Linked DNA regions of Homo sapiens: all the other regions are linked to region 1. The links are contacts of gene promoters, found by promoter capture Hi-C in blood cells and fetal thymus (Javierre and others, 2016). All regions are on one chromosome and are shown on one strand. Each heading gives the region's core, a stretch centred on a gene start or on the middle of the fragment in contact. The rest is flanking DNA. Distances are from core to core; before and after follow the strand shown. Region 1 holds the start of TAS2R38 (taste 2 receptor member 38). Region 2 has its middle 88 kb from the start of MIR11400. Region 3 has its middle 100 kb from the start of MIR11400.

Region 1 (5,109 bases), core at 1,058-3,557:
ATTTTTAAAAAGCCCCTTAGATAATTTCAATGTGCAGCCAAGAGCGAGGACCTAGGTCTTTAAGGGAATCCTGGGACAACTTCAGTGTCCACCAAGGAAAGGAAGCCAGATGAAGTTGCAAATTTTGTAGCCACTGCAGGTGAAGAAATGGCTAATTTTTGGAGGAAAACTGAGGTGAAGATCTGGATCTATTAAGACCAAGTGCCTGAGAGGAGGAAACAGTTCTCTGGCCCCACAGCTGGCAGAACTAAGAGCCTTGGTGGTGAGCTGCTACAACTGTGAAGCCTGTGAACCACGAAGCCTATCAAGATTTAAATGTCTGGTATACCTTGTTTTCTCCTGAGTCTTTCAGTACCTGATTTGAGGAAAGCCTTCCTGGCTGGGTTCCTGTGCAGGAATACAGACAATGCCAAATCTCTACAAATTTACCTTTCAGCTAGGTGATTTTGGTAGGGTCTCCAACCAGAGAGACCAATACTTGGTACCAGGCAAAGCACCATCTTCAAAGGCAAATTGGGCATAGCCAGAAAGCCCACACAGGGCACCTACTGGCATCCAGGTCACCTACTGAGCAAATATCTGCTTCTCTTCCATCATTATAGAGTAGGTAAAAGTGCATTTCTGGATCAGTGTATTTTCAGACAAAACGACCCCTATCCTCTCGTGCCTCTTGAAGTTGAAGTTATGTGGTACCTCTTGAAGCTGGAATTATGACATAATTATCATTCCAAGTTTGTCTTTGTTTCCATGAAAATTGCGAAGTTTGAAGAGGATTATATCCTTATTGTAGTAGTGAATATTTCCAAAAATGATGCTAGCACAAGTTCCGAGAAAGAGGTTTAACAGTCATGTTAAAAGCCAAACATATTATCTTGGGATTTAGATATTATTTCAGAAGAGATGATTTCTCATGGTTTGATTTATACCAATAATAAGCTATAGTATATAAAGGATTTACACCAAATACTTAATTATTTTGTTCATTTTATCAAAACAAACCTAGGGTACCAACATTATTCTTGCCTAGGCCATGTATAGTGCTTAATTATTTTATTCATCTATAAGTGAGTTCATTGATACAAAGTGGAGAGACTTTCAATTGTGTTTTATAGAAGAAATTGGAAGGCTTTGTGAGGAATCAGAGTTGTATTCCTGAAGAATCAGAGGCATATTTATGAAGACTCACAGGCGTATTAATGAAGAGCTCATTTCATGTCCATTCTCAGCACAGTGTCCGGGAATCTGCCTTGTGGTCGGCTCTTACCTTCAGGCTGCTCTGAGCCCAGAGCAGAATGGTCATCACAGCTCTCCTCAACTTGGCATTGCCTGAGATCAGGATGGCTGCATGCCCAGAGGGACAAGCTGCCATTATCCCAACACAAACCATCACCCCTATTTTGTCGCGCCACAGAATCAGTAGGGGCACAGAGATGAAGGCAGCACAGGATGATATCACAAAGAAGCAGAAAAAGGAGACAAGAGACTTGAGGGCTTTAATGTGGGCCTCCAGGCTGGGGTCACGAGAGTTTCTGGTATAGACCTTCATTGTCCTCATGTGCCTTCCCAGGGAGACAGTCAGCATCCCAGAAGAAACCAGAAACAATAGGAAAGGAGGCACAGACCACAGATAGCAGAAGAGAAAGGAATAAAATAAATTGAGATCTTTAATCTGCCAGTTGAGCCTTGTATTGTTATTCATGAATAGCACAGTTGTGACTGTGAAGTGAGGTCTGCTAAAAAAGCACCAAACACAGAGGACAGTGCAGATGCAGGAGCAAAGAATAATACCCAGGAGCATCTGGGAGATCTTCCTGGAGACCCAGCTTGCCAAGCAGATCAGGAAGGTGTGAGAGAAACGGATGAGCTTGGAGCAGTAAAGCAGGCTGAGGCAGGCAGCAAGCCAGAGGTTGGCTTGGTTTGCAATCATCCATAGCATGATGATGGCTTGGTAGCTGTGGTTCAGTGGTTCACTCAACTTCTGGAAGTGGGTAAGCTGGATAGCACTCAGGAACAGCAGTCCATGCAGGAAAAGCCGGCTGATGCTGAGACACAGCAGCACACAATCACTGTTGCTCAGTGCCTGCCTCTTCACTACATCCCAAAAATTCACCAAGAAAACGAAGGCATTGGTCAGAAACCCCACTGCAAACTCCAGGACTGAAATGAACAGAAATGTACTCCTGACTTCATAGGACACAGTGCGGATGCGAGTTAGAGTCAACATGATGTCACTTCTCTAATTGGCTATTCTACTTCTCTTCTCTAGTTGGCTAATCTAAAGACCTGGTTGCCACCCAGTGCAGAAAGGTAAATGTACGTTCCAAGCCAGGACCTTTCCTTCACAAAGCATCCAGCTCTTTGCCTAGATCTATCCCAAAGCGAGCGCATAAAAAGTTCTGGCAGGAAACTTAGAGGGATGTTGTTTCTCTAGAACATCTCTTGGATACACGTAAGAGCTTATCATAGGGTGGAAGACTGATGGTTCTACCTCTTGGGTGATGCAAGATTAATAAATCCAGGTGTTCCTGTACAACCGCCTTCCCAGAAGGCCATAGCACAGCATCACGGATGCAAACAAAACAGGGCCTCAATTTCCCCAATCCAGTTTTGCATGCCCATCTGGACCTGTGGGGGTGGCGAAGAGAACAGGATTTGCTTATGGGTTTTGAGGCACCCTGCAGCAGGCAAAGCAGATATTCTTGGTGATCTAAGGTTTGAAATAGAGTCTCTTTTCATTTGCATTCCTTCTCTCATCTGTGAAGTAATGACTCTTATCACAGACTGTGTTTTTAATATAGATAAATGCATGGTTCCTTTCCATGTGTCAGTGTATGATTGCAGTTTTATTTGCTGTTGCCAAAGGTTTCATGCAATCATCATTATTATGCCAGGCACTGTGCCTGGCAAGGAGAATATTAACATGAACAAGACTAGCACGCTGTCATGAAGGGAGAGGAAAGGGGGCATAGCTGGTTTGGATTATTATTATGTTTATTTTTTAATTAGTATAAGTTCTGGGGTACATGTGCAGAACATGCAGGCTTGTTACATAGGCATACACCTGCCATGGTGGTTCGCTGCACCCATCAACCCGTTATCTATATTAGGTATTTCTCCTAATGGTCTCCTTCCCCTTGCCCCCTACCCCCTGACAGGCCCTGGTGTTTGATGTTCCCCTCCCTGTGTCCATGTGTTCTCATTGTTCAACTGCCACTTATGAGTGAATTTCCCCCGATAAATCCTTTAAGAGTTATTGGTGCTGCCCCATTGGTGTTTTTCGATACTTTCTCTTTGTATTTTTTATGTTTTCTTTTGACTAAAGCTCCTTTTTTATTATTAGTAGTGACATAAGTCAGTGATTACTAAAGATGTTCACTTTTGTTTTATTCTGAACTGTTCATACGCAGATATTTATGTAGTCCTTATTTGTGCATCATGATGTAGCAGTTGTATTTAATTAATTGTGTTTGTGACCACTTCATTTGGGTCATTCATGCTTACAGAGTGTCAAACACAGAATTCTGCACTTTCAACTTAAGCTAATTTTCTCCTTGTCTTCACCACACCAGGTGGCGGTGTTGCACTAAAGGTGTTTAGAAAAGATGTTTGCCTCCCTAAAAAGTCTAGGTAGAAACTTGCTCTACTGCACAAGCAGAGATATATAACTATACAGTTAGAACCATTTATATCAAGATTATAATCTTTTATTAAAAAATAAAGTTCTTTATGTTATTTCTTGGAACACCAGATCCAATCTTAATTTTTCAATAATCAAGGGCTCTTTCAGAGAAAGGTAACACAAACCTTCATTGATACACCCCCTCCATTTGACTTATGTACACACAGTGTTTGGGATTATCTAAGTAATCTCCTTTGCAGATAGTCCTTAGCTATTGGCTATTTTTTGAAAAATGGTTTACTCAGGAAGCTAAAAACAGTAAAGTCAACTGCAATGCCAGTAAGAGCAGTGGTAGGAACACAAAAGCTCCTTATTTGTTATTAGTAGTGATATAAGTCAGTGACTACATCTTTATCAGATGTAATTAAAAAAATCTTAGTCCCTGGATTTTGCAACTAAACAGATGTTAAAAATTCTTAACCTATATAAATTGGTGTTTCGACTTTTGCTGCCATTTATTTTTGGAGATTGGAATTACATTCTTTGGATTGATTTTTAAAAATTGGTCTTTGTTAGCTTGACAGAAGAACACTATTATTAGTAATATCAAACCTCATTCCCTTAAAATACCTTGCTTAGATGTTTCCAATGACTAGAGAAATGGACATACCAATATATGTTTATTAAGAGCAAAATATATTCCACCTGTTGTAATGGGCATTGAGGACACACTGGTAAACAAAGGCGTATTAGAGGAACTGAAAGAGCACAGCCTTAAAGCCATAAAGCTTAAAGTAAGCCATACCTTACTTTAGAGGAAAAACACCACTAGATGACTTCAGATAGCGGAGTGAACTGAAAGAAACAATGTTGGGGGAGAGACAACGGACAGGAAACATACAATTGGGGTAGTGTCAATAGGAAACACTGGCAGTGGCCATCATCAACAGCACTCAAAACAGATGAAATGGCACCCAGGAAGTCGATGAGGCAGGAAGGAGCTCGGTGCTTTCACGGGGAGAGGGGAGGCCCGCGTGGCTGGCTTGTAGCCACAGGTGAGGCTGGAGGGCGACTTCTTCCACTACCGTGTGATTACAATATAAAGTAACTAGTGATTGGCTATCTCCCATTCTTCCCCCGTGATTGGCTATCTCCTGTTCTCCCCCTGCCGGAATTCCTAGGACAGCGAGACAGGTGGGAAACAACAGACCTAGGAGGAGTCTCTGCACCTCCAATCTCCCCAAATAATCGGGCAAAGCAATGGACTCCAGCTTTTCCAGGAAGCTCCAGCTCCCCAGCAACCGAGTCCTCCCCCATCGCTATTTAACAGCTCCCACCAGGTGGCGCCAGAACACTGCGAGGCCTGGAATTCCTGGCAGGCTCGCAGTGCATCCTCACCTCAGCCGTTTAAATCTAGCAATAATGGGGTTCCGTATCTCACGCAACTGAAATTTTAGACTCCACTTACTGCGTTATGATAGGCTGAATTT
Region 2 (5,109 bases), core at 916-3,415, 410 kb after region 1:
GGTATCTTTTCTGAATTATAGTCAACAAAGGTGGGAAGTGGTCCCAGAAGAAAGGCATGAGGTGCAGCTTGTGAGGGAACCCATGTGTTGGGACAGCCCCGTTGGGCACGTGTGACTGGGGGATGGAGGAGGCTGGGGCATCAATGGGGATGGCATAGGGGACCCTGACTTGCAGGAAAGACAATGAGCTCATCCCTTGGTGCCTTGTGTTGGGGGCGCTGTTGGCACATCCTAGAGAACATGCCCAGCAGACAGAGGAGCGCCTGTGTGGTGAGGAGATAAACTCAGAAATGCAGCATGAGGCCTGTAGCTCCAGACAGCTCTAGAGCACAAAGTGAAGACCGATGCATTGATGTTGTTTAAAGGGAGCTAATAAATATCTAAAGCAGTCATCCAAGTGTGTTCTAATATAAATCCTGTGTTCCTGAGGTTGTGGGGATTGAGAGAGGAAGTGATGTCACTGTGGGTACTGTTCTGTGTCAGGACAAGGACGTCCCTCCTCCTCTGCTCCTGCTCACAGTGACCCTGATCTGGTAAAGCTCCCATCCTGCCCTGACTCTGTCATGGGCACCAGGCTCCTCTGCTGGGCAGCCCTGTGCCTCCTGGGGGCAGGTGAGTCCTCAGACACCAACCAGTCTCATTCTGTGTGTCTGTATGTGTGTGTGTGTGTGTGTGTGTGATGAGTACAACTGTTTTCCTCATCCTGTTCTCAACTTGTGTCTCCGCAGATCACACAGGTGCTGGAGTCTCCCAGACCCCCAGTAACAAGGTCACAGAGAAGGGAAAAGATGTAGAGCTCAGGTGTGATCCAATTTCAGGTCATACTGCCCTTTACTGGTACCGACAAAGCCTGGGGCAGGGCCCAGAGTTTCTAATTTACTTCCAAGGCACGGGTGCGGCAGATGACTCAGGGCTGCCCAAAGATCGGTTCTTTGCAGTCAGGCCTGAGGGATCCGTCTCTACTCTGAAGATCCAGCGCACAGAGCAGGGGGACTCAGCCGCGTATCTCCGTGCCAGCAGCTTAACCACAGCATGACACAATCGCCTCCTTCCTGCTCATAAACCTCCTCCTCTCTCTCCTTGCTTCCTTATGATACTATTTTGCACCAGGGGATCCTCATCTCACACCACTCCACTGCCTCTTCCAGAATCATTGCTTGCATGTCCGCTGCTCAGATCAGCAGATGTGCGTTGTATATGTTAATCATTTTCTGTGGAAGGCTCGTTGCTGGTCTTCATTATCCATCCTTATTTTCCACATTGGATACTGCTCCCTTCAAGATTACTTGTTGCCTACAAAAGATCCTACTTTTTACATTCAAATTTTACTTTTTATTAATACGTATTTGATGCCATCTTGAAGGCAATCTCATTATCATCCTAATCTTTTGCTAATCTTTATGTTTATGGTAACATTGATTGTTATTTTGGGGGACATGTATTTCATCTTTGGTAATGAAATGAAATAACTATGCACTTCAATTCCTGTATGTTCTGCCTACTTAAGAGTAAATCCAATTTTCTTCCATTCCTCCCATTCTATCCCACTCCCTTTATATGATAGTTTTAAGGGAGAAAATATTAATTAGACTCTAACTGCAGCTATGTGATAAGAGTTATTTAGAATGAGGGTGGGATATTAAGCTTTGAGTAAAGCAATAGTCAGGGTTAGAACTAGTGTTGGAATCAGGGTTTAGGGAAGTTGCTCATAAAACCTGCAGGATGACACTTCTAGAATAGTCTCTCACTCACTCTGCAGACACTTCCCAGCATCCCTTGGGCCATTGCAAAAGCAATGATGAAACTTCACGTATTGGCCACAAGATGGCACTGTGGTCCACTGGGATCTAAGGGACTCTGGGGAGAGCCTGGGAGAGCAGCCTAGGAAGGGAAGGGTTAAGAAAAATTAGGGCTGGAATCCAATATTATGCAGATGTTGCAGCAGTTTTCAGTCATTGCTAGGCTACCTACAGCTATGCAAGATGCAGGAAATACCTCTAATCTTTAATGAGATCCACAGTTGAAGAATTTTGGCCTGGCAGCCTTGGTGTCAAGCGCAGGTGCAAGCAGAGGAGCAACTGCCTCAAAGGAACGTGGGAAAGCTAGGGGCGGGCTGTGCCCTAAGCTCAGTATGTCTCTGCTGCACCCCATCTTCCCTGCAGACCTCGCCGGGCAACAGCCTTCATGAGAGGAGGTGGATCCTGCCTGAGACCAGTCAGAAGGCCCTGGACCAGCTGGACTCCGTAGGCATGGGGGGTGACACCACAGGCCCACCAGACTATTCCCTAGGGAGCAGCCTCCGAGCCCCAGCTCACAGTCCTGAGGATCACTGCACTTAGTTGGGCCAGCCCCTCCTCACTCTGACCCTACCATGAACCCCAAACTCTTCTGTGTGACCCTTTGTCTCCTGGGAGCAGATAAGTTCTGGAAACAGCTGCAAAACCCTGTCATGGGTTTGCAATGTCTGGGCTACAAGCCTTTTTTGTCCTTTCTTCTGCAGAGTCCCCCTATTTCTTAAGTCTTGTCTTCACTTTCTGTCTGCCTCTCCAGCAGGCTCTATTGATGCTGGGATCACCCAGATGCCAAGATATCACATTGTACAGAAGAAAGAGATGATCCTGGAATGTGCTCAGGTTAGGAACAGTGTTCTGATATCGACAAGACCCAAGACGGGGGCTGAAGCTTATCCACTATTCAGGCAGTGGTCACAGCAGGACCAAAGTTGATGTCACAGAGGGGTACTGTGTCTCTTGAAACAAGCTTGAGCATTTCCCCAATCCTGGCATCCACCAGCACCAGCCAGACCTATCTGTACCACTGTGGCAGCACATCCGCAGCCCTGCACAGCCAGCTGCCCTCTGCACAAAAAGGGCAGTCACAGGCTGGAGGTGGGCACTCCTTATGGAAGCCCGTGTCTCAACCAGAAGAAAAAGCTGCCCTTTCTGAAGCTCTTCCCAGACTTCCCAGCAATGGGATCTCATTCTATGTGTGCTCCTGCAGCATAAAACTTAGAGTGAGCTGGGTCTGTCACTGTAGTGCGGATGTGTAAATGCAAACAACGTAATGTTATTTTGCTCAATTTGGAATATTCTGGTAATTGTGCAAAGGAATGGTAGCTTCTAACAAGAAATTCATATTTCACTTTCTTTTCAGGAGAGAAGAAAAAAGCAGAAAGCAGCTGGGAAGCTTTAGCCTGCTTGAGTGATCTGGGATTCTCAGGTAGCATACATAACATCACCTTGGCTTTGGTTCCTTTAGATACCAAGCATGTGTTCTGTGGAGGACAAGAAAATCCATTTTTTTTGTTATAAAGTTATAAACACACAAGAGAACAATCCAGTTAGGGAGAATGTTAATAAATACAACAAACTCTGCCATTAGACCTGAAGATAATCAGCTAGTAGAATTATCAAAGAGATTGTAAGACTCTTACTGAGTACCTGTTTGAGGTCCTCTGAGGATAGATGAAGGAAGGAACTTAATTCTTACCATCACTGTGGCTTGGATTAGAATCCATGAGTTCCTTAACTTGTTTTTCTTGTAAAATATTATAAAATAATATAGAACACACATTTTATTTTCCTGTAGCCTGTAGTCCTCTTTAGCACCTAAAGGGAGAAGCGCATATCCCGGTGCAAAAGGGAGCTGGTTGCTTGCTTGGCAAAAAAATGAATTCACCAATTGGCCAATCTGCTGAAAGTCAAAATGAAAGGCTAATATATGAGACTGATGACAGTTCATGGTTCTTGGTATAACTTCAACAGCGAGTGAGCATTTTTTTCTTTGTCTATAGCTTTCTTTCAGCCATCGATCCTCAGTTGTGTCTTAGCCTCTTATCAGTCCAGCTCACTTTGATACTAAATTTGATTGTTGTGTATCTCAGCAAGAAGCACGTCTCACATTCTCTGTATTTTTTGTGGTCATGAGTGTGTTCCTGTCTTATTCTTATTTTATGTGGTGCATTTCTAAATAGGACTGTACAGAATACAAGCATCTATTTGTATATGACTCTCATCTTTTATGGGGAGAGGTCAGAGTAGGTGAGCGTGCACTTTGATTCTCTGCTGGAATCTCTTTGGATTCTATGTCCCCTGTCACATGGTTTATTTTCATATGCATATTTCTCATGGTTCTCCTGACTCTTTTAGCAATGCTCATTGCAGGATATTAGAAATTGTATTACTTCTAATGGCAGAATGTTAGAAATTGTGTTGACTCTTAAGGCAAAATAAAATACCTGGACTCACCTTTCCATTGCTGTGTCTATTAGTCGTGGTCCTGGAGATATCAAGGAGGGACAAAAGGAGTATTTGCAAAGGTGTGGCAGGGTTAAGGGAACCCAGTAAGAGAAGTAGAAGTAGCCTAAGAACAGCAGAATCTGTGGCTCTTATTCACATTGGCCTGAAATAAGTAGGAGAGGATGTGGATCCCAAAGCATCAGGTACTGTAGCTCTAAGGCAAGGCTGCCTATAAGGTGCTGTGGACTTTGGTAGGGAAAAGTAACCTATATAAAATAATGAAGCAAGAGGATAGCCAGGGCATAGATGAATCAGAACAAGTGGTGCCCCTACCTCCCTCTACTCTCCTGCCATTGTCTCCCATTAGCCAAACTCACTCTGGAGTTAGAGAAGAAGAGAGCCAGTTAACATAATACACTGAGGTCAGCCTCTGAAGGCAGGGTGGATCTGGAGAAATTAACGTAAATTATCCAGATCACTACGCATAAGATGGCCTTGAGGGTGCTGAATCCCAAACTGTCTGGCTAGGTCTGTGCTGTGAGCTGATAAAGCCCTAGTATTATTTCTGGGGAATCTGTACTCTTAATAATTTACAGACAACCAAGGTCTGCTTTGGATCTGATCAGATAGACTAAATCTTGGGGACTTTGCACCACTGGCCACTCAAGGGAGGGGCTGGAAATATTTTCTGAGGACAAAAAAATAGAATTAGAAAATTTGGTTGAATCTAGCGTCAGAGAGATGACATTAGGACAGCCAGGGAGAGCTGGAACAAGAAGGTTTAATCACAGGCTCCTCACCCTCTGCTGATGGGCAGGTGTGTGAGCTCCAGCATGGAGCACGACAGCACTAGGTGGGAGGAGGGTGAGAG
Region 3 (5,109 bases), core at 1,370-3,869, 400 kb after region 1:
ACCCAGACTGGAGTGCAGTGGTGCGATCTCAGCTCACTGAAACCTCTGCCTCCTGGGTTCAAGTGATTCTCCTGCCTCAGCCTCCTGAATAGCTGGGATTACAGGCACGTGCCATCATGCCTGGTTAATTTCCATATTTTTAGTAGAGATGGGATTTCGCCATGTTGGCCAGGCTGTTCTCGAACTCCTGACCTCAGGTGATCTTCCTGTCTTGGCCACCCAAAGTGCTGAAATGATAGGCATGAGCCACTGCACCCAGCCAAAGTCATTAAATCTTAAATCTCCAATAGTTCTTGACTCCATGTTCCACATTCAGGGCACACACTGGTGCAAAGGGGGACTACCAAGGTCTTGGGAGTTCTTCGTCTGTGGCTTTCCAGAGTTCAGCCCCCAGGGTTGCTTTCACATGTTGTTGGGTGTTTTGGCTTGTCCAGGCACAGGGTGCAAGCTGTCAGTGACAATATCGATCTGGGGTCTGGAGGGCAGTTGTCCCCTTTCCAAAACTCCACTAGGCAATGCCCCAGTGGGATTCTGTATGGGGCCTCCAACCTCTAATTTCCTCTCTGCATTTCCCTAATAGAGATTCTCTGTAAGGTTTCCACCCTTGCAGCAGGCTTCTGCCTGATCACCAAAGATTTTCCATAATTCTCTGAAATCTAGATGAAGGCTGCCAAGCTTTCTTGATTCTTGCATTATGTACACCTGTAGGCTTGACACCACATGGAAGCCACCAAGGCTATAGCTTGCATTCTCCAAAGTGGCAACTCAAGCTGTATCTGGGCCCCTTTGAGCCACAGCTGGAGCTGGAGCAGCTGGGATGCAGGCCGATGTGTTCTGAGGCTGGGCAGAGCAGCAGGACCCTGGGCCTGGCACACAAAACTATTCACTCCTCCTAGGCTTCAGGGCTGGTGATGGGAGGTACTGCCTGGAAGATTTCTGAATTGTCTTCAGGCAATTTTCCCAAAGTCTTTGCTATTAGCACTTGGCTCTTTTTTAACTATGTTAATATCTCTAACAAGTGGTAGCTCCACAGCCTGCTTGAATTCTTCTCCCACAACATTTTCTTTATTTGCCACATGGTTAGGCTGCAAATTTTCCAAACTTTTACACTCTGCTTCCTGTTTAAATATACATTCCAGCTTTCAGTGTTTTCTTTGCTCTCACATCTGAGTGTAGGCTGTTAGAAGCAGCCAGGCCACATCTTCAACACTTTGCTGCTTATAAATTTCTTCCACCAGATACACTAGGTCATCACTCGCAAGTTCAAACTTCCACAGATTCCTAGGGCAGAGGCAAAATGCACCCAAGTTCTTTGCTAAGGCATAACATGTGTGACCTTTGCCCCAGTTCCCAATAAGTTTCTCATTTCCATCTAAGACCTCAACAGCCTGGACTTCACTTTCCATATCACTATCAGCATTTTGGTCACAACCATTTAACCAGTCTCTCAGAAATTCCAAACTTTCCATCATATTCCTGTCTTCTTCTGAGCCCTCTAAACTCTTCCAACTTTTGCCCATTACCCAGTTCCAAAGCTGCTTACACATTTTCAGTTATTTTTATAACAATACCCAACTTCTTGTATCAATTTTCTGAATTAGGCCATTCTTGCATTGCTGTAAAGAAATACCTGAGACTAGGTCATTTACAAGAAAAATGGTTTAATAGGCTCATGGTTTTTCAGGCCGTACAGAAGGCATAACACCAGCATCTGCTTCTGGTGTAGTCTCAAAAGCTTACAATCATGGAAGAAAGAAAAGGGGAGGCAGGCACATTACATGGTGAAAACAGGAACAAGAGAGAGAAAGAGAGTGTGTGGGGGAGGGAGGGAAGGTCATTTAAAACATACTTTTAAATGACCAGATCTCACAATAATTCATTCTCTATTCTGAGGACAGCATCAAGCCATAAGGGATCTGCCCCCGTGATACAAACACCCCTCACCAGCATGGGGATTACAATTCAACATGAGATTTGGGTGGGGACAAATATCCAAACTATATCCAAAGGAGTCTCACCTGGAGCTGTGGGCTGTGCTGCCTGAGGTTGGGGATGGGGTGGCATAAGCAATTTCTTGGCCACCCCAGCTGGTATCTCACTAGGTCATGTGTCCCCAAGTCCACTGACTCTGAGTTCAGCACAGCACCAAGACTTGCCCAGGAATTGTAGTCCTTGTGGCCTGGACTGTGTTTCAAGTTTATTTAGGACCCTAAGGCACTTTAGCCCATGGTAGCGAGGCTAGCCAGAACTCAGGTTCTGACTGCTGGGATAAGTGATTCCCCTCTGACTAGGGCTGGTCTAAATGTTCTTCCATGAGTGCTGGCTGAGTCCTGCCTGCTGTTGCTATCCACTGTGTGAGGACAGCAACGACTTCCAACACAAAGTCCCACAGTCACTGCACTCTCCCTAACCCAAATGCACAGACTGTCTCTCCAAGCCATATGGCCACTGCCAGGGGATGGGGGAGGCATGGTATTGGCAATTCAAGAGTGTCTTTTCTACCTCTTTAGTGCCTCTTTCAGTGATATGAAGTTAAAACCAGGTACTGTGGTCACTTAGTTGATTTTTGGTTCTTATGAAGGTGCTATTTTGTGTGGATAGTTGTTCAGTTTGATGTTCTTGTTTGGAGGAACAGTTAACGAAGGCTTCTATTTGGCCATCATGTTCTACCTTCTTCTTAATCATTCTATTGGGTCTGTAGTGATATCTCTATGCATTTTTCTATAAGTAATTATATTTACATTTTTTTCTGTTTTCATTAGTAATTTCTATCTCCTTTTTTCAAGTGTCTGCTTTTAAATTTGCCTGTTTTAAAATCTTACGTTGTTTGTTCTTATATTACTAATACGTATAATATGTTTGTATTTTTTATATAAACCTTTTGACCATTAAATATATTGAGTTAGTCTTCTCCCAGAGTGGCCTGCCTTTGTACTTTCTGAATAGAGTCTTCTCATGAACTGAAATTTTCTATTTTTTGAAGTTTAATTCATATATATTTTTCCTTTTACAGTGACTACTCTTTGCATTTCAAGGATATCTTGCCTATAACAGAATTATGAGTTGTTCCATTCTGTTACTTACTCTACTCCTCCTCATTAGTAGCCCCATCCCTTTTTCTTTGTCATCACTTGAAAATGCTAAATCTCCAAAATCACAAATTAAATATTCCACTATCTGCCTACAGCTTCTTATCCTATCATACCTGTTCTTTGATATTATTGACATCTCCTCTCCACTGGTAAATATTCTTTCTATTTCCTAGGGTCCCTACAGAATTTCTTTACTCATTCTAGAGCAGATATGAGGATGTTACGTGTTAAAAATCCTAGCTTGCAAATAGTTATTATTTTATATTGATACTCTTAGGCTTCCCTTTCATTTACAAAAATAAACAAGAATAAATGCACTGATCTCTTTGGCATGGCAGAAGCTGAATGCTGTCAGAGTAAGTCACACCGGCACAAACTGTTATCATGATAAATACATAGTCACTAAGCTTACCTGCCTTTATATCCCTGCTTTGAGATTATAGTATGGTCCTTTTACTAGCTCAGTCTTTCACCCTCCTCAAATATTGTTTCAAATATTTAAGACTTTTTTCCAGTCCCTAATTCTTCTCTTCTTGCCTCTTAAGCCAAAGGCACATCTTGTTAGGACATGCTGGACCTTGCATCTCTGCAATTAACACAGTTTTTCTACTGTGTGAAGGTGTCACCTTGAGTGAAGATGGTTCTTGTGGACGGGAACCCAGTGTGGGGCTCAACTCTAAAGGGATGTGGCAATGGGTCTGAAAATGGGTTCTCAATGAAGCATCACAGTGTCCACTATGTTTATGAAGTAGATCCACCCTGCCACAGACTTCTAGGTAAGAGGAGGTGAGCATGCATCATGATTCTCTACTAGAACCTCTTTAGATTCCATGTACTCAAGTCATACTATTTATTTTCATACTGCATATTTTAATGCTTCTCCCAACTCTTTTGGTAATGCTAATTGCATGTGATAGAATTTTTGTTACTGCTATTTGCAAAGAGTGAGAAATTGTATTATTTCTAATTGCAGAATGTTAGAACTTGTATTATTTTGTTAAAGCAAAATAAGATCTCCAAGACTCACTTTTCCATTGCTATGTCTATTAACCATGGTCCTGGAGGTATTGAGGAGGGATGAAAAGACAATTTACAAAACTGTGGCAAGGTTAAGGAACCCAGTAAGAGAAGAGAAAGGATTATGGGGATAGTATAGTGAGTGCTCTTATTCACATTGGCCTAAAATAAGTAGGAGAGTGTGTGGATCTCGGGGCTTTTGACATTTTACATTTGGGGTAAGGATGTTTGTAGGGTGCTGTGACCTTTGGTAGAGAAAAGCAATCAATATGAAATAGTCCAGCAAGGAGGCAGCCAGGAGACACACAAACCGGGACAGTTGGTTACCCTCTCTCTCTCTACTCTCCTGCCATTGTCTCTCATAAGACAAACTCACTCTGGAGTACACAAAAAGAGATGCAGTTACTATAATCCATTGGCATCAACCTCTGAAGGCAGGATGGATCTGGAGGGATAAACATAACCTGCCCAGAGGATGACTCATAGGGTGGCCTTGTGGGTGCTGAATCCCAAGTGGTTAGGTCTGTGCTGTGAGCTGATAAAGCCCCAGAATTATTTATGGGGAATCTATACTCCTAATAATTTACAGACAACACAGATCCACTTTGGACTTGATCAGATGGACAAAATCTTGGGGACTTGACATCACTGCGCACACAGGGGAGGAGCTGGGATTGTTGTCCAGGAAAGGAAAATATAAGGAGAAACCTTGGTTTGAATTTGGTGTCAGACATATGATGAGAGGACAGCCAGGAAGATCTGGAACATGAAGATTTAATTACAGGCCACTAACTCTCAGCTGACGGGCAGGTCTGTGAGTTCCAGAATGGAGCACTGCAGCAGTAGGTGGGGAGGAGGCTGAGAGGGCGATGAGGCAGTCTGAGTGCTGAGGGCAGTGCAGTCAGAGAAGCAACTGCCTCATCACAGAAGCTTCTGCCCTTACTCATCCCCTTGCTCTGCAGGATGAGGAGGGAGTTCCATGGGTAGGGACCACTGGACC

What was found. The method cuts DNA at HindIII sites, captures the fragments that hold promoters and counts their contacts. A CHiCAGO score of 5 or more calls a contact.
Region 2: a fragment that was not itself captured here is called in contact with the fragment with the promoter of TAS2R38 in region 1 in 3 of 17 cell types (naive B cells, M1 macrophages and total B cells); the score reaches 6.4 in naive B cells.
Region 3: a contact is called between a fragment that was not itself captured here and the fragment with the promoter of TAS2R38 in region 1, in 1 of 17 cell types (erythroblasts). The highest score is 5.2, in erythroblasts.

What each region holds. Positions count from the first base shown.
Region 1 is chr7:141,971,466-141,976,574 of GRCh38, forward strand. It overlaps TAS2R38 (taste 2 receptor member 38), which reads right to left and starts at 2,308. Exons shown (of 1, transcript NM_176817.5): 1 at 1,166-2,308. The coding sequence starts at 2,224. The coding sequence ends at 1,223. The HindIII fragment of the contact is 7,298 bases long and covers 1-4,405 here.
Region 2 is chr7:142,383,816-142,388,924 of GRCh38, forward strand. It overlaps TRB, TRBV7-3 and the pseudogene TRBV8-2. Among named protein-coding and RNA genes, the nearest start is that of MIR11400, 88 kb to the right of the region's middle. The HindIII fragment of the contact is 1,038 bases long and covers 1,647-2,684 here.
Region 3 is chr7:142,367,220-142,372,328 of GRCh38, forward strand. It overlaps TRB. Among named protein-coding and RNA genes, the nearest start is that of MIR11400, 100 kb to the right of the region's middle. The HindIII fragment of the contact is 1,764 bases long and covers 1,738-3,501 here.